Linked DNA regions of Homo sapiens: all the other regions are linked to region 3. The links are contacts of gene promoters, found by promoter capture Hi-C in human tissues and cell types (Jung and others, 2019). All regions are on one chromosome and are shown on one strand. The core of a region is centred on a gene start or on the middle of the fragment in contact, and the rest is flanking DNA. Distances in the headings are between cores, read along the strand shown. Region 1 overlaps KIF13B (kinesin family member 13B). Region 2 overlaps KIF13B (kinesin family member 13B). Region 3 holds the start of INTS9 (integrator complex subunit 9). Region 4 overlaps KIF13B (kinesin family member 13B). Region 5 overlaps DUSP4 (dual specificity phosphatase 4).

Evidence for each region. The method cuts DNA at HindIII sites, captures the fragments that hold promoters and counts their contacts. A contact is called where the count stands out against the background at its distance.
Region 1: a fragment that was not itself captured here is called in contact with the fragment with the promoter of INTS9 in region 3 in 2 of the 25 tissues and cell types used here (IMR-90 fibroblasts and lymphoblastoid cells).
Region 2: a fragment that was not itself captured here is called in contact with the fragment with the promoter of INTS9 in region 3 in 2 of the 25 tissues and cell types used here (IMR-90 fibroblasts and aorta).
Region 4: a fragment that was not itself captured here is called in contact with the fragment with the promoter of INTS9 in region 3 in 2 of the 25 tissues and cell types used here (dorsolateral prefrontal cortex and mesenchymal stem cells).
Region 5: a contact is called between a fragment that was not itself captured here and the fragment with the promoter of INTS9 in region 3, in 2 of the 25 tissues and cell types used here (dorsolateral prefrontal cortex and hippocampus).

Annotation. Positions count from the first base shown.
Region 1 is chr8:29,154,441-29,157,860 of GRCh38, forward strand. It overlaps KIF13B (kinesin family member 13B), which reads right to left. Exons shown (of 40, transcript NM_015254.4): 14 at 1,286-1,416. Among named protein-coding and RNA genes, the nearest start is that of KIF13B, 110 kb to the right of the region's middle. The HindIII fragment of the contact is 4,521 bases long and covers 1-3,420 here.
Region 2 is chr8:29,191,161-29,194,399 of GRCh38, forward strand. All of the region lies in intron 3 of KIF13B (kinesin family member 13B), which reads right to left. Among named protein-coding and RNA genes, the nearest start is that of KIF13B, 70 kb to the right of the region's middle. The HindIII fragment of the contact is 5,738 bases long and covers 1-3,239 here.
Region 3 is chr8:28,888,718-28,892,100 of GRCh38, forward strand. INTS9 (integrator complex subunit 9) reads right to left here and starts at 1,252. Exons shown (of 17, transcript NM_018250.4): 1 at 1,157-1,252. The coding sequence starts at 1,165. It overlaps HMBOX1 (homeobox containing 1), which reads left to right and starts at 1,678. Exons shown (of 10, transcript NM_001135726.3): 1 at 1,678-1,961. RefSeq lists enhancers at 1,035-1,591, 1,231-1,430, 1,592-2,148 and a silencer at 1,801-1,920. The HindIII fragment of the contact is 5,500 bases long and covers 1-3,383 here.
Region 4 is chr8:29,214,403-29,218,157 of GRCh38, forward strand. All of the region lies in intron 2 of KIF13B (kinesin family member 13B), which reads right to left. Among named protein-coding and RNA genes, the nearest start is that of KIF13B, 47 kb to the right of the region's middle. The HindIII fragment of the contact is 7,775 bases long and covers 1-3,755 here.
Region 5 is chr8:29,338,127-29,341,861 of GRCh38, forward strand. DUSP4 (dual specificity phosphatase 4) reads right to left here. Exons shown (of 4, transcript NM_001394.7): 2 at 1,972-2,117; 3 at 156-375. Among named protein-coding and RNA genes, the nearest start is that of DUSP4, 11 kb to the right of the region's middle. RefSeq lists an enhancer at 2,086-2,380. The HindIII fragment of the contact is 5,003 bases long and covers 1-3,735 here.

The sequences.
Region 1 (3,420 bases), core at 809-3,308, 270 kb after region 3:
TTGTAAGATTTTGGCTCTGGGTGGATGACTTCAGACAGAATTTAAGAACGCAGGGGTTCCACATATGCTGGGTACTGTCAGAAAGTGGGAGTAATCGTATGAATGGGTATTTCACAAAATCGTATCCATGGGTTCAGGCTAGAACAGAATAACGCTGCAACTGGTGAAGAAGTAGCAGTCACTCATACTGGTTCAGAGAAGGGTATTCTTTGGGTGGCACAGTGACCATGTTTTCATCTGCACTTAAACGCAACGATGACGTGGCCTGCTCTGTCTTATTGCATCCTGGTCTTGGAGAACCCTTGCCTGAGGCTGGGGTTCTGTGTGATTATTTATGGCCTCATTAGAGAACAGCACAACACAGCTGTGAGGGCCACACCAGCTTCTGCTCCTGTTTTCTCACTTGATCCTTCCCCAGAGCTTGATAGTCTCAATACTTGAAGACTTTATGGATAAAATCAGTGATATTAATGATTTTTTGACATCATAAAATGAAACAAATTAGCATTTGAAAGGTCAACATAATTCAGTTAACCACTGTCTCTAACAGTTACAGACTGTTATACTTCCAACTCTGTAACAGGGGATAACAGCTCTATAGCTGAAGGAAACAAAGTGACAAACGTGCCATTCATAAAATTTGGAGCCCCTTCATTCCTCCATGGTGTATTAAGTTCCTGTGTACTAGTCTCATATTATGCGCCAGGAATGGAGAATCAAAAAAAGAAAGGCCCTTGTCCTCAAGCAGCTCATGGTCTAATGGGGTAATAAGGGTTCACAGCCCACAGGCAGACACTAAGAAGCACTGCCACAACAGGGCGATGGTCCGATACCTCTTAAGGGCAGTGCATTCAGACCAAACAGTGACTCCCCACAGGAGAACATGGCAGCACTTAACCCTGCAGACCCAACAGGAGTTAGCAGGTCAAAGGATTGGCAGGTGCTGAGGAGGAGGAGATAAACTGGGGGGTTATAAGGGATTTTCTGTCACAAACAGAGGAAAGCCTTCTAGGGCTGTGGTGAGTGAACCAGGAGGCAGCTCGTGGTGTTGGCAGGGGCTCTGATCAAGACTTGATGAGGGCCTAAATACGTAAGGCCATGGCAGTGGGTATAGAGAGGAAGGAATGGGTGTGAGAGGCATTAAAGCTAAATGTAAGGGGCCCGCCCAACCAACTGGATTACTTAATGTGGTCAACTTAAAAGCAACAAAGGCCACTGTTGCCACTAGAGTACTTTCTTCCTCTGAAAAACTCTTGTGATATGAACACTAATTCAAGTATGTTACCTGGTGTTCTTCTGAGGAGTCAGCATAACCTGGCCTTCTGACGTGATGTCTATAATACAGTGTTCAGGAAGAATTCCCATGCCGCACAGTTGGATATCTTGGGAATTTGCTGACCCTATCAATGTATGTTCCTAAGAAAAAACCAAATTCACTGATTAATACTGTATTCTTACATATACACAATTGAAATCATTTACACTGAGCCCTCTTATATTGTCCTATTACCTTTGCGAAAATTTTTTTTATTTTTATTTTATTTTTGAGACAGAGTCTTGCTCTATCCCCCATGCTGGAAGGCAATGGTGCAATCTCAGCTCACTGCAACCTCCGCCTCCCAGGTTCAAGCGATTCTCCTGCCTCAGCCACCCGAGTAGCTGGGATTACAGGCATGCACCACCATGCCCAGCTCATTTTTTTGTATTTTTAGTACAGACAGGGTTTCACCATGTTGGCCAGGCTGGTCTCAAACTCCTGACCTCAAGTGATCCACCTGTCTTGGCCTCTCAAAGTGCTGGGATTACAGGTGTGAGTCACCATGCCTGGCCTAAAAGATTTTTTAAAAGCAAATGAAGCCAGGCATGGTTGAAACAAAAACAGGAAGGGAGCGAGATTTGGCCTGTGAAAAGCAGTTGGTTGACCCTGACCTAGACTAACTCACCTACTCCCATGGTTTTAAATGCCATCTACAAATAAACTACATCTCTATCACCACCCTAGAGCTACATACTTTAGTTCCGTTTTTTTCCCCACCTCCACAACCACTATCGCAGTCTTAGTCACTTATTTTTTATTTATTTATTTATTTTTGAGACAGGGTCTTTTTCTGTCACCCAGGCTGGAGTGCAGAGACACTATCCATGCTCACTAAACCTCACCTTCTTGGGCTCAAGCAATCTTCCTGTCTCAGCCTCTGAGTAGCTGAGATCACAGGCAGGCACCACCTTGACCAACTAATTTTTTTTTTTTTTTTTTTTTTGTAGAGACAGGGTCTCACTATGTTGCTCAGGTTGATCTCAAACTCCTGGGCTCAAGCAATCCTTCCACTTCACCCTCCTGAAGTACTGGGATGACATGTGTGAGCGACTGTGCCCAGCCTCAGCCACTATTATTTTCTGCCTACTCAGCCTACTTGACACAACTTGGATGTCTGAAGATATATCAAATGGAATAAGCGCCAAAGCTAAACTCTTGTTCCCATCTCCCCTAACCCAACAGAAGTCTATTTCCTTCTCCAATAATAATGGATGGCACTACCACCACCAGTCAGTCAACTGAAAAGCTTAGATATAATTCTTGAGTCCTCTTTCTTTCTCTTACAAGCCCATACCCACCCCATGTCAATCAGGGAAAACCTTACAGATTTTTCCTCCAAGGTCTATCAAGAATAAGCTTGTGATCCCCACCTCCATGACTACATCCTAGATTCAGCCTCCAGGATCTCTTGCCTGTGGATACAGGAGCTTCCTACTGTGTCTCCATTGCATGCCACTCCCTTCCACTCCTGCCACAACAGCTGGTCACACCATCCCCTATTTAAAACCTTCTAAGAGTGGGCATGGTAGCTTACACCTGTAATCCCAGCAATTTGGGAAGCCAAGGCAGGAGAATCGCTTGAACCTAGGAGATCAAGACCAGCCCGGGCAACACAGTGAGACCTCGTCTCTACCAAAAAAAAAAAAAAAAAAAAAAAATTGTGGCCAGGTGCGGTGGCTCATACCTGTGATCCCAGCACTTTGGGAGGCTGAGGTGGGTGGATCACTCAAAGTCAGGAGTTCAAGCCCAGCCTGGCCAACATGGTGAAACCTTGTCTCTACTAAGAATACAAAAAAATTAGCCAGGTGTGGTGGCACATGCCTATAATCATAGCTACTCGGGAGGCTGAGGCAGGAGAGTGGCTTGAACCTGGGAGGTGGAGGTTGCAGTGAGCTGAGATCGTGCCACTGCACTCCAGCCTGGGCGAAAGAGCAAGACTCCGTCTCAATAAATAAATAAATAAATATAAAAATGAGGCAGGAAGATTACTTGAGCCCAGGAGATTGAGGCTGCAATAAGCCATAATCGTACCACTGCACTCTCACCTGGGTGACAGAACAAGACCCTGCCTCAAAAAAAAAAAAAAAAAAAGTAAGAATAAA
Region 2 (3,239 bases), core at 404-2,903, 300 kb after region 3:
CATACAATGGGAATTAATTATGTATGTAGAGGCTTACAATGAGAACTAAACATGCTATAGGTGATATGACTCTATATTTTACATGGAAAACTATTCACAAAATGTGTAATAAAATGGCTATTGCACACACACATGCACCTACAGTCACACACACAGAATTACATCTATAGTTTATTTTTTTGCAGCGAAATTAGTGATCTGTTTCATGTTTTTATATTTTTTCAATATTTTTATTTTTGTAGTCAAAGAAAAAGATATTTTTTAAATAACATTTAAAGATGCTCACTATAGCATGTCCAAAATAGCTTAAAATAGCAGAATGTTTACATAAATTATGACATGCCCATGTGCAAGTATAGATTTGAGGGTATAGAAGACTTACTAATTTAAAAAAAGTTTATGTTAATGAAAAAGTTATAAAAGTCTAGAGTATGATTCCATATTTGTACCAAAAAACTATATGCATAAAAAGCAGGAACAATCTGTATTAAAATGCTACTTGGTGGGATCTTACAGATGATCTGTTTTGATCTTTCACCTTATCACCACTTTCTAGAATATCACATAGTTCTTTTGCACTGTTTGAAAAGCTTCTTTTTCACTAATTATTTCTTTTTAAACCAACTAAGCAAAGGCAAATTTTTCACTGACTGCATCTTTCACTTTTTCGATTTCTGTCAGTTTGAAATCTACTTACTTGTGTTTTGTGATTTTTATCTCCGTAAAGATTTTAAGTGCAATTGTTTTAAAATGTATCTCGGTTCACATTTTGTCACATTCTCCCACTTTGGGAGTCTGTTGCTATGCTTCCTGATGATGGTTTGCATGTTAGTTTGCAGGTACATCTTAGCAGGGAGTGTTTATTTTATGGTTTACATGATTGCTTATTTTTTCCTCTCCTGATGGCCACCTTTCCATGACTAGTTTATGCTGTCATTTCCATTACTGAAGCCCAGATTTTGGGTCTTCTCAAGGCCCAATGTCTCCATCCCTTCCTATTAACACAGACATTAGCTCAATGTTGGTGGCCAAAAACTGACTGTAAGCTTTCACTCACAGAGAAGGCTCGCCCAAATCAGTTTTCACATGGTGAGCCTGGCTCCAGTCCCCAACCATACACCAGTGCCCCCATTAGTCGGCAAGAGTTGAACTTCCAATCACCTCCAGGCACCTGGTCTGATTCCAAAGCCCTGGAAATATGTCACTTCAGCCCTCGCTTACTGCTGGTCCTTGAAGTTATATATGTTGTTGTTGTGTTTTTCTAGTTTTGTGTAGAGATGGGGTCTCACTATGTTGCCCAGGCTGGTCTCAGACTCCTGGCCTCAAGCAATCCTCTAGCCTCAGCCTCCCAAGTACTGAGATTACAGCTGTGAGCCACCATGCCCAGTCTAAATTTGTTTTTGAGTTTGATTACATGATTCGCACATTCTAAAATATTTTATCTATCTCTGCTATAATTTTGATGTTGGCAGGAGAATGTTTCTGTGTAAACTCACAAGATTATCTGGACCAGAAGTCTAAAAGGTTAATTTTTTTAAGAAAGAAAATTAGGTTAAGATGGTAAATTAATAATGCATACTGATATCCATCACCCAGCTAAAATTAACTCAAAACGACAGGCGATGGGGGAAGTGGGGAAATTGCCAAAAAGGAAGAGAAGGGGGAAAAAAGAACAAGGTTTTGAAACCAAGAGTGCTTGCTTGTGCCTGGATCAGAATTGAGAAACTCCTGAAAAAATAGTTCCAATGAAACTGATGGGGGTAAGGGTGGGGGCCTGCAGGGAGAGCACAGGCTGCAAAGCCAGTGAGCAGTTCTGGGAGGTACCAGAAGGGCAACTAAAGGGGGAGGCAGATAACCCTGGCAGCAACCGAGAGGACGACTGGCTCAGCACCTCTGGACAGGTGAGGATCGGCACACCTGCATCTCTGTGTGAAACAGCAGGCAGGGGAGACACCTGTTCCCTGGATGGGGCTGTGAGAAGGAAGCGAGGCCAGGAAGTGAAAGCAGACCCCCAGCGGCTGACAGCCCCTGAGAGCCCTTGGGCCCAGAAGACATCATCCAGCTGCAGTGTTGTGTTACACACTGCTCACCCTCCATGTTTTTCCAAAGCTAAAACGTATATCTATCAGCAGTGGTGGCTCACTAAGCCATTTTCAAACACAGAGGAGCAAAAGGAGGAGGATGGAAGATGGCCCCAAAGGACTGGGCATCAAACTGGGGGGAGCTGCCTTGCAAACTCCAGGTGTCACCCATAGTGAGAATCATTACAGCAGAGTAGGAGTAAATAAAATGTGGAGCTCAAACGAAGTTTCTCCTGTTCTAGCTTTCCACGCTTATCTCCATAATTTTATTTAATTAATTCTGTTCTTAATAAGGCTAAGTAAAAACCATCCTGATTCTTGTAAGCTTAGTTCTCACTTCAAAAGCCCTATCACATGTGTATACAGTCATCCCTCAGTATCCTGAGTGGGACTGCTTCCAGGACCTCCCATGAATACCAAAATCCACAGATGTGCAAGTCCTTATATAAAATGGTGTAGTATTTGCATAAAACCCACACATATCCTCCCATATACTTCAAATCATCTCTTGATTACTTAAAACACCTAAGACAAAGTAGATGCTATGTAAATAGTTGTCATACTGTACTGCTTTTTACATTTTTACTTTTTTTTGAGACGGAGTCTCGCTCTGTCGCCCAGGCTGGAGTGCAGTGGCGTGATCTCAGCTCACCGCAAGCTCCACCTCCCAGGTTCACGCCATTCTCCTGCCTCAGCCTCCTGAGTAGCTGGGACTACAGGCGCCCGCTACCACGCCTGGCTTTTTTTTTTTTTTTTGTATTTTTAGTAGAGACAGGGTTTCACTGTGTTAGCCAGGATGGTCTCAATCTCCTGGCCTCATGATCCGCTGGCCTCCGCCTCCCAAAGTGCTGGGATTACAGGCATGAGCCACCGCGCCCGGCCCTAAATTTTTACTTTTATTGTTGTATTATTTTTCATAGTTTTTTAAAAACTATTTTCAATCTGTGGTTGGTTGAACCACAGATGTGAAACCCACAGATACAGAAGGCCAACTGTATATTTATCAGAGATAGGTTCTAAATGGCACTCTCCTCTCCATTATTATTGGGTTTTTTTTTTTTTTTTACTTGTCTTTCTTTTAGGGATTTCTTTAACAGTGACATTTCTTATTCCCAATTTGAGTCGAGAGGCTATTCCCAAAGTAACCATAATGGAGCT
Region 3 (3,383 bases), core at 2-2,501:
TTATATAAACAGATTTATACGGGGACAATTTCGGAATTGAATCCACTTTTAATACTTTCTCTGACTTCGCAGAAAACAGCTGGCTTTGCAGAATATATGCCTGTAGCACAATGATTATCAAGATGAGGGTAGGTGTGTTGTGTGGTTTGGCAAAGCATGTTCAGATAATTATATAAATGGTAAAAAATAAACTTTTTTTTTTTTTGAGACAGAGTCTCGCGCTGTTGCAAGGCTGGAGTGCAGTGGCGCGATCTTGGCTTACTGCAACCTCTGCCTCCCGGGTTCAAGCGATTCTCCTGCCTCAAGTAAAGCTTGACAATAACTTGGCTGCACAAATATGGGTTTTAAAAGGTTGAGAAACAGTGTTTCACACCTGCCTTTCTACACTATGTTATTAACTAATTGAATCGAGTTGGAATAAACTAGTTAGACTTGTGTGCACAATGAGTCAAATGGCTCAAATCAAAGGTCTGAGGAGCCTCCATGAACCAGGTGCTTGAGCTGTGTGATGTTAAGACTTCAGGTATACCGAGCACGCTTCATTCAGCCTTGGCTCATGAAGTCCCTACAGTCTTAGAATGGAATACCATATAACACTTCTCTGCCCATCTAAATCCCATGCAGGGTTTAAGACTCAACTTCTCCACACTCTGACCTCGTCCTGAATTCCAAGGGCAGTGAGGAGTCTATATAACAGGATATTTAATAAGTGATTACGTTCTGCTGGATGTTTTTTACTGTCTGCTTAAATCTAGCCAGTCTCAACAACAGTAGGGAGACAGGATACTCAAGCGCCAATCGAATGGAAACGGATTGTTAACAGCCTATTATAACCCTCACGTGGGAACCAGGACGTCCAAACCTGGTTAACAGAGCCCACAGAGTTCATGGGCGAAGGACTGTGACAGTCAACCTCTTGTCTGAACAAAAAGACCCACTAACGAGTGAAAAAAGACCTCCTGGGAGGGATGGGGTGGGGGAGAGGGAATTCAAACCTTCTCAACAACAAAAAGCAGCTTTCCTTAGCCCACTCCACTTTCCAGCTCAATAATTGCTACCCCTCCCGTGCGACGATTCCCTGCCCAACGTAGGAAAAAAAGAGGTCCAAAAGGTTATAGCATCACCTTTGCCCTCTGACCTAGGAGCGAAGACTCACCAGTTTCATAATGGACTTTTGGTGGTTCAATAGCAGTCACTGAACTCCTCAAACCCAGGAAGCGTCTTCCGGTGCAATCTCCGCCACCTGCCAGCCGAGAGCATCGCGGGACTTGCAGTCTTTCATCCTCACGTCCCTTCCAGGGGAATAATGGGAAATGTAGTCTCCCCTCCAGGCATCATGGGAACTGTGGTCGCCTTTCCTTTTCCTCCCTTTCCTCTCCGAACGCCTCCTTCCGTCAGCTCAAATTCATCCCAGCCGCCAATGCATCCTCCCTCTCCACCCCAGCATGATATCATGTCTTCCTTACGGGCCTGGGGCCCATGGTGTTCTGGGATGTGTAGTCCCGACGGCTCCGACTCCCCTTTCCCTCCTCCCAAAGGGAAGGCGGATGGGCACGGGGCTTGCCGGAAGTTGTAGTTCCCTTGGCCCTCTAGGCGCCGGGCTCCGCAATTTTTCTCAGGGGAGGCAGGAACTACAACTCCCAGGGACGCCCGGCGGCAGCAGGTGGGAGAGGGGCTGTTGATATCAATATGGCGGTTGTCAGCCAGACAAAGACAGTCAGTCTGATGTGATTGAGACAAGGGAGGTTTTTCAGGGGGAGACTGGGAGATAGGGGCCTCCCCTCCCCCTTCTCCTCTTCCTGCGCCGGCCTCAACCCCTCCCCAGTCCCCTCCCGACGGGCGCCCCACGCGGAAGACACCCCTCCCCCTCCCGCCTTCCCTCCTCCCTATCTCAGCCCTTCGTACTGGGACGTTGGGGAGGGGGCTGTGCCGGGCGGAGAGAACTCAGCGAGGATTCTGAGGTGAGTCGAGCGGTTTTGAAGCCGGACTACCTCAAGTCTCTTTCCTCACTTCTTTCTCTTCACTTAAAACAATTTTTTTGGAGGGGTTTTGGGGAGGAAGTGAGCGGACGCTGGGGATGGGTCTCGTAAGCGGCCGGATTGAGAGGAGGGAGGAAGCAGGGGGCTTCCGAGTGGGTGACCCAGACGCGGGCTGTGGGGTGGGGCAGTTCGTGGGGTCCGGTCCTGGAAAGGCGTCGACTGCCCCCCAACTCTTCTGGTTTCCTCTACGATGAGCGGAAGGTTTGAATCCTGGAGGTGGGGTCTCCGGTGTGGAGTTCTGGAAACTGTGAGGTGATTTGCAGGTGTGTTGGTTTGTTTGGGGTGTGTAAGTGTGTTTAAACTGTGTGACGTGTACTTGTGTGCTCTGCTCGTCTTGGAGCGGTGTCTGTAGATGGGAAGTTAGACAGCGCGAGTCCTCGCTCGCTCTGGGCCTGGGCTGAGGGGCGGGCGTGAGGTCCTGGTGCTGGGCGTTTGGGCTGGCGACGTGGTGCGAGGCGGCCGGGCTCAACAACTCGCTTGTGTCCCGTCGCCCGCTCACACTCTGCCACTCGCCTCCGCCCCCTCCCCTGGACGAATCTCCACCCCAAACTCCAGCCACGAGAACTGTAGAGATGGTGTGATGTGGAGATGGATTTTTTGCATCCTCAAGTCGGTAGATAGGTGGGAAAGGAAAAGTGTTTCTTAATATTTTATTCCGGAACCGTGTTTTGGTTACACTATTGGGGCTACTTTGAAAGGCGTCCTCCACCCACCTTCACCCCGAAACAGTAGGTAGAGGTATCTTGTCTTCGTGTGAATTAGATGAATAATTGCTGAAGATTCGGGGGGCCTGGGGTGGGGGTCGGGAGTGCTGGATTGTGTACGCGTCTGTGTGTGTCTACTAAGGAGACGGAATGTCTGTTATGTATCTGGAGATAGGGCGACTTATTTTCGTAGCAGGAGGAACTGTTGGAAATTATTTGCGGGAGAGGGGGTGCGCCGAAAGGCGCTGCTTGTATTTTTCTTCTACTCCACCCTGTTCTGTCTTGCATTTGCCTGAAAGCTGGTGGAATGGAACAGTGAAGAAGCATTGGGTGAGTAAAGGGAAGAATGCAGTTGGCATTAAAGATAACACTATGTAAAGTTGAATGGTATAAAGTGATTACTGTTTTTATTTACGCTGAAGCTTAAAAAAAATCACCCATGTATCATATAAGGTAGAGTGATGTGACTAGCTCATTTCTCTGGTATCCTGCAGGTACAGAAACCTCTGGCTTCCCTCTTCCTTCCTTCCTATCCTCCCTCCTTCCTTCCTTCCTTAAGTCCTTCCTTTCTTTCTTGGCTTCGTACAACATTTCTCTTTCTGTTGGACATAATACCGCCTGTGTCTTTTTATTTAGTTTG
Region 4 (3,755 bases), core at 979-3,478, 330 kb after region 3:
TAAAACACACACATTAGCCTAGGCCCACACAGGGTCAGGATCATCAGTATCACCGTCTTCCACCTCCACGTCTTGTCCCACTGGAAGGTCTTCAGGGGCAGTAACAGGCATGGAGCTGTCATCTCCTGTGATAACAGTGCCTTCTTTTGTAGTAACTCCTGAAAGACCTGCCTGAGGCTGTTTTACAATTAACCTTTTTAAAAATGGGTAGTAGGCATATACACTAAAATAATGATAAAAAGTCTACTGTAGTAAATACAGAAACCAGTAACATAGTCATTTATGATGATTATCAAGTATTATATACCATGCATAATTGTATGTGCTAGACTTTTATATAACTGGCAGTGAAGTAGTTTGCTTTCACCAGCCTCACCATAAATGCATCAGTAATGCATAGCACTACAACTTTACCAATGGCTGTGATGCCACTAAGTGACAGGAATTTTTCAGCTCCTTCATAATTTGATGGGACCACCTTCATATGAGCAGTCCATTGTTGACTAAAATATCATTATGGGGCGCATGACTGTGATAGAGTGGTGATCCAAACCAAGGCAGAAGGAATATTTACCTCTAAATAATACTCTGCTGGAGAGACAAAATCAAAACTGTTCAGGGCTGTGACATCATCAGGACTGCATTTTCTCTCCAGGACCTGTTGCTCCGGTGGCTCCACGCTCCCTGCATGAGTTGCATTATGTTTGTTTCCCTGCTCTTTCCCGTCCTCATGAAGCCCTGTCTTCTGAGTTAGGCTAACATCCTGGAGGAAACATGTTCTAGCCTCCAAGTAGAGTGAGTGGTATGTGGGGAAGGGGAGGGAAGATAGAGGGCAGAAAAGACTTTTCCAACCTACCTAACAAACAAGCAAAATATGGCAAATTTGGGGCAACACCTGGAGTAGGGAGGGAGGCAATAGGAACTGTCTTAGAGAAGAAAAAATAATTCTTTCATTATTTCATGTCCCAGGATCGATCGAACCAACTCTATAGAACAGTATGCCGACCAGGTGTGGTGGCTCACAACTATAATGCCAGCACTTTAGGAGGCTGAGGAGGGAGGATCGCTTGAGCTCAAGAATTCAAGGACCAGCTTGAGCAACGTAGGGAGACCCTGTCTTTACCAAAAATTCTTTTTTAATTAGCCAGGCACGATGGCATGCGTCTGTTGTCCCAGCTACTCAGGAGGCTGAGGCAGGAGGATTGTATGAACCTAGTAGGTCGAGGCTGCAGTCAGCCGTGATGGCACCACTGCACTCCAGCAGGGACGACAAGGTGAGACCCTTTTTAATAAGAGTATGCCTTCCAAGTTTATGGTATTTGTCAACTAAGCTAAAGATGTTTTGAAGAAAGCAACGGGAATCTTTGAATGCTTGAAGGACAACGACAAAAAGTTTTAAAGTATTAAAAGCTTTGAAAGCAAATTTATAATCTTGGTGGAAAAAAGTAAATGAGGATATGAATTGTAATTTTAAAACTAAATTGCACACACATACAGGTAACTAGTATTGCCTATAGGAGGTATATCTGAAAATTTGTTTTGTGTATTCATCTTCATACATGGGTGTGTATGTAGATAAACAGACAATACACCCAATACTGATCACCTCTTTCCCAGCGGAGATGAAGGGAGATTTGCCTGAAAAAACTGTTCACCTGCTCGTTTAAAGTTGTTAAATTATTTTTTAAGTCTCTATTTTTAATTGCTTTAATAATAATAATAGAGGCTACCTTTTTTAAACTGCTAAACGTCAAATACCTGGTACACTTTAATACACCAACCCTACAAGGTAGGTCTTATCCTCTCCACTTTGTAGAGTAATAAGGAAGGCATATCACAAACAGGTTAAATAATTTGTTCAGTAACAAAGCTAGATTCAAACCTAGGTCTCTCATTCTAAAGCCACGTACTAGGCCGGGCGCAGTGGCTGATGCCTGTAATCCTAGCACTTTGGGAGGCCAAGGCAGGCAGATCACTTGAGGTCAGGAGTTCAAAACCAGCCTGGCCAACATGGTGAAACCCCACCTCTACTAAAAACACAAAATATTTAGCTGGGCATGGTGGCGGGTGCCTGTAGTCCCAGCTACTTGGGAGGCTGAGGCAGGAGAATCATTTGAACCTGGGAGTAAAAGGTTGCAGTGAGCCGAGATCCTGCCACTGTACTCCAACCTGGGTGACAAAGTGAGACTCTGTCTCAAAAAAGATTTTTTTAATTAAAAAAAAAATACAACTATGTTCTTTCTACTTTAATATTTTGCCCTCCCACCCATGGCAAATGATACAGGAGAAGAAATTAAAGACAACTTTGTAGCAGAAAACTAAATGAAAAGATGCTTGTTTCAAATTATCTTATTTGGACTGTTGTTTTTCCCTTGCCTTCAAATAAAGTGGGCAGCCTGAGACTGGGCTATGACCTAGGGAAACCTATGTGACTAAGGCTAAGCTGTGGCGCAGGGCTGAAGCTATGTGAGCTTCAGGTTCCCCGTGCAAATCTTGCCTAGAGGAAACCTGCCCTTTCTCCATATCTGGGCCTGTGTCCATCGACGTATATTCAGTCCAAAAAAAAAAAAAACTTTGTCTTAAGTGCACTGTAAGTGTTAGGGAAAGAATACTTATTCCTCGTTCCTCATGTTTCCATGTGGAAGAACCGAAAGTAGTACTTCTGATGTCCCTAAGCTGTCTCACTCTACCTCTTAGTAGAGGATACGTGAACTATCAAATTAGTGGTACTCAAGAGAAGGAAATGAGTACACACAGGCTGTGCTCCCCCACCCTGTAGAGGAGGCCTGCAACTGTCCGGCCTGCCTGTGCCTGCTAAGTGTGTCACTCAAGGGTGAGGGGTCAGCAAGCCTACTTGGCCAACAGACAGAAAGCCATTTTCTCTTACAGCTTTATCCGTAACTAAGGTGAAATGAGACAGAGGAAAACACAGTGGCGAAGACTGGGCTCAGGAACTGAATTGCCTGGTTGTGAATCCCAGCCCCACCACTTACTATGTGACCTTGGGCAACTAATCTAACTTCTCCAGGCTTCAGTTTCCTGCTCTATAAAATGTAGCCAACAAGAGAGCCTATTTCATGGGATTGCTATGAAGATTAGAACAGTGCCTGGCACATAATAAGCATTCAGTGTTAGTGTCTTTATTATTTATTTCTTCTATCTCACTGATCCTTGTGATAATCTCAGTTCAAAACTAGGAGGGGGAAGAAAGGGGAGCTGAACAAAGAGAAAGAATTTCTTTCAAAAGTAAGAGAGAACATCTTTTAGCTACAGCAGCAAGATGATGCAAATGTCTTATGTTACTTTTTGGTGAACTAGTTTGGAGAAAACTCCAGAATAACAGCAGGTCCAGAAGACAAAGCACTAAGGTGCCCAGTTCAAAACCTCCCCCACCATACTCCACCAACTAGAAATTAATTTGCAATGTCATGGTTTTTTCCAGTGTGGGGGGCTATCAGGACACCCCCCCACAAGATGGTTCATTATAATTTTCCATATTAATCAGCTCTATCACTCACTAATATTCAGTGTGAGAGTTTGGTGCTTTTCCTAAAACCACCTCTGCTCTCTACTTAGTATGGGTGTCAACTGATTCCCCTTTGAACATCTTAAACCTGTTTCCTACATGTGAAATACTCTACGTGTCTAGGGACATATAAGCACCGTTACACTGTGCTTATTGGATGGGATAAGAGAATTACAGTAATTAAGGATGAAAATACAAGGTTCCTGAACACCTTTAACATCTATTACAT
Region 5 (3,735 bases), core at 358-2,857, 450 kb after region 3:
CATCCAATGTATAAGCCTTCCCAATGAGGAAGAGGGGGAATGGGGACCCTTGGATTCAGTGCCTCCAATGTCCACCTTCAACCCAGGCTTACAGGGGTTCCTTATCCTTCCCACCCGCCCTCAAACCCAGGAACCCCAGAGCAGGGCCAGCCTACCGATGTACTCTATGGCTTCCATGAACCAGGAGCTGATGTCGGCCTTGTGGTTATCTTCCACTGGGATGCACTTGTACTGATAGTGTCCTTCAAAGTGGTTTGGGCAGTCCGAGGAGACATTCAACAGAGCCGTGATGCCCAGGGCGTCCAGCATGTCTCTCCGGGCAGCATGGTAGGCACTGCCGAGGTAGAGGAAGGGAAGGATCTCCACAGGACCCCCCTGCACAGAAAGGGAAACAAAGGCCCCTGAATGACATGAGGGTAAAGTGCTTGGCACAGGGAGTGGAAGCTTGTCTGAGAAGAGCTTTCCTTTCCAAACCCAGGGAGAATGCCTGCTGGGCCTGGCCCTCCCAGCCTCCCCCTGTAGCCTCCTGGAACTCTTGGAGGGGTGATAGGCCCAGTGGGACTTCTCCAGCCTTTGCCCTCTACTTGTGAGCAGAGAGGCCAGGGCAGGTAAAGTCTTGTGGGACTCTCCTGCACCTCCCCCATGGCAAAATAAGCGGCAGGACAATGCCGGCCTTATGGCACCATCTGTGACACTGAGTTTATATCTGCTAATCATCAAGCCATTTGCTGTGTGGTTTAGATACTTATTTGTTTTGATATGTATTCACTGGGCATATCAAAAACAGGTGTGCAGTGGCTCACACCTGTAATCTCAGCACTTTAGGAGGCTGAGGTGGCAGGATCATGTGAGCCAGGAGTTCCAAGACCAGCATGGGCAACACAGTGAGACCTCATCTCTCAAACAATGAAGCTGGCATGATGGTGCACACCTGTAGTCTCAGTTGCTTGGGAGGCTGAAATGGGAGGATCATTTGAGCCCAGGACTTTGAAGCTGCAGTGAGCTATGATTGCGCCACAGGACTCAAGCCTGGGTAACAGAGTGAGACTCTGTCTCTAAAAATAAACAAATAAATAAGCTGATGCCCTCATGGCCACACAGACAAGAGAGAGGATCTTGGCAAAATGAGGCAACAGTGGCTTAAATTTAGCACATGAGATGTGGGCAGCAGAGTCCATCTAACTGAAAGGGCTGGAGGGTGGGCTTATAAGAAACACAGTGGCTCAAGCAGGTTTTCTTGGAGGGAGGGTGGGTGACCATCTATGTTCATTCGGCTGATACGTGGGAGCAGCCTGCCTGTCGGGGACTGAGATGTATTTCATGGCCTGCTACTTCAGAGGAGAATGACCTCAGCTTCCCAGAGAGCAGGTCCCCCAGGGCTTCTGGAGGCCTCCTCACTTGTCCGGACACGACGTTAGAGGCCAAGCCAGGGAGTCATGTCTTTAGACTTTTTTCTTAGGAGGATATTTAGAGAGGGAAGGGGAAGATTTCCAAGAAGTAAATAGGTCCTACCTAACATCCCACCCCAATACTCCGGGTTCACCGCATTCTCCCCAAATTGAGGCATAACATTCAAAGACTTAAAAAAATCTCAGGATTGGATGCAGTGGCTCACGCCTGTGATCCCAACACTTTGGGAGGCCAAAGCAGGAGGATCACTTGAGGCCAGGAGTTCAAGACCAGCCTGGGCAACATAGCAAGACCCCCCCCCCCCATCTCTACCAAAAACCTTTTAAAATTAGCCAGGCATGGTAGTGCCACCTGTAGTCCCAGCTACCAGGGAGGATCCCTTGAGCCCAGGAGTTCGAGGCTGCAGTAAGCTATGATCACACCACTGCACTCCTGGGTGACAGAGCAAGACTGTCTCAAAAGCAAAGACAAAAAACACCGTCAGAACTCTGAAAAGAAGGCATCCACTGGCCCCTACGCTGTTCCTGCCCCCCACTTCCAAGCCCTGCCCCCCGAGTCTACCTGGTCGTGTAGTGGGGTCCCACAGGAGCTGCAGCCCAGGTCCAAGGGCTCTGTGGCACTGGGGGGAACCGGGGGTGGGATGGCTGCCAGGGCCTTGGTTTTAGAACAGAATTCTGGGTACTCGGAGGAAAACCTCTCATAGCCGCCTGTAAAGGAGAAAGAAGCTCAGGTTAATGGGGTCACTAAGCCAGCAGGAAGTCAGAAAGAACTCGACTCCTACAGACTCAGGCGGACTGCTAGGAAGGCAGGGGCTGGCGTGCTCCATATTGGCCACTAGGTGGCGCTGTGGACCTAGAGAATGGCCATGGAGTGGTTTCCAGAGATGCAGAGGACACACTCGTCAGGACTGCAGCAAAGCTGGAAGGATAAGCTTTATGGACAAGACTTGGGTTAGAGAGGTAGACATACAAAGGAAGACGTGCAGGGGGATGTGCAGAAGTGACTGTGGAGTAGCTCCTCAGGACAATGACAAAATAGAGAAGCAAAGGTCACGCTGGGCTTCCAAGGACACTAAGTACCTGTAGAGACACCTGCCACCCCTGATTCCAGCCCTTCCTCAGGGGAGGTTCTCCAATGTGAGAAAGAAGGGAAAAAATGACCCTGGTACAAACTCTTCTGGATCTCAGCAATGGAACAGATGTCCATTGCACGTCCTCATGAATAGCTGTTCCGTCACCAAGAGACCAGAACAAGAGGAAAACGGGCTTAAATCTAAATAAACCCCTCATGCTATGTACAGGTTTGGGGCAAGGGAGTATTTCCTGACCTGAGAGTGGGTAAGCCCTGGAATGGTTATCTGTGGGATCATCTTCCAGAGAAGGGAGATCTTTTAAATAAAAAAAGAAGATGATGATAAATGGCCAGCTGAGCTGGGGTAGGGTGAGTGCTCCTATCTAGGAGGGGTGGAGGCAGGTGGGATACAGGGAGAGGCCACAGGGAGGCCATCCAAAAAGACAACCTTTCAAGCCCTATCTCTGGCTTTCTTGTGATCTCTGGGACTTCCTTTTGCGGCCAACTTCCAATCCACAGTGCTATCAATGTATGGCCCTGCTTTTATTTTTATTTTACAGTGTCTGTAGGGCCAGAAATGGATTCAATTGATTCAGTAGGGCCTGTGCGTTGGAGAACCACCATTCCAACAAACCCATTCAACTGACTCCAATGACAATTTGGCCAACAGTCCTGGATGTCGCTACCTTTGCGGTCTTCATGACAGTGACATAGGACCTCTGTGCCCTAGGGCCATTGATAGAAATTTTCCAATGTGCAGACATGTGACGGTGAGTCAGTCACTTGCGCCAAATCCCAACCCTAAAGACTGCTTCCTACTGAGAGGAAGGAAACGGTTCTCTACCACATCATGAGGCTTATAGAAACAGGGTGTACATTTTTTCCTCTCTGACCGGAGGCTTCTCTATTCCCCTCCTCTCCCTCCCTCAGGATATAAATGGATCTCTCTCTGGTCACAGGCCCTTGTTCCTGCTGAGTCACAGTGACCAGCCTCCCTGGATGGAAAACCTGCTGGTGGGGCTGGTACCGTCAGCCTCGGTCATGCTGGTGGCCTCGGCAGCCACTTCATCACAGAAGCACCCCCTCCCTCCCATCATAAACCCCTTTCCTTATTCGGCTGCCACCACTGCTGCCCAAAATGCAGTAATTAGAGGATGAGGGAAGAGGAAGGAAATATCTGTCTGCAGCTGAAGTCCTTCAGGGGCTTCTGTGATGGGAAACTTCAGTCCATGCTCCCTTTCGGAGAAAGTGGAA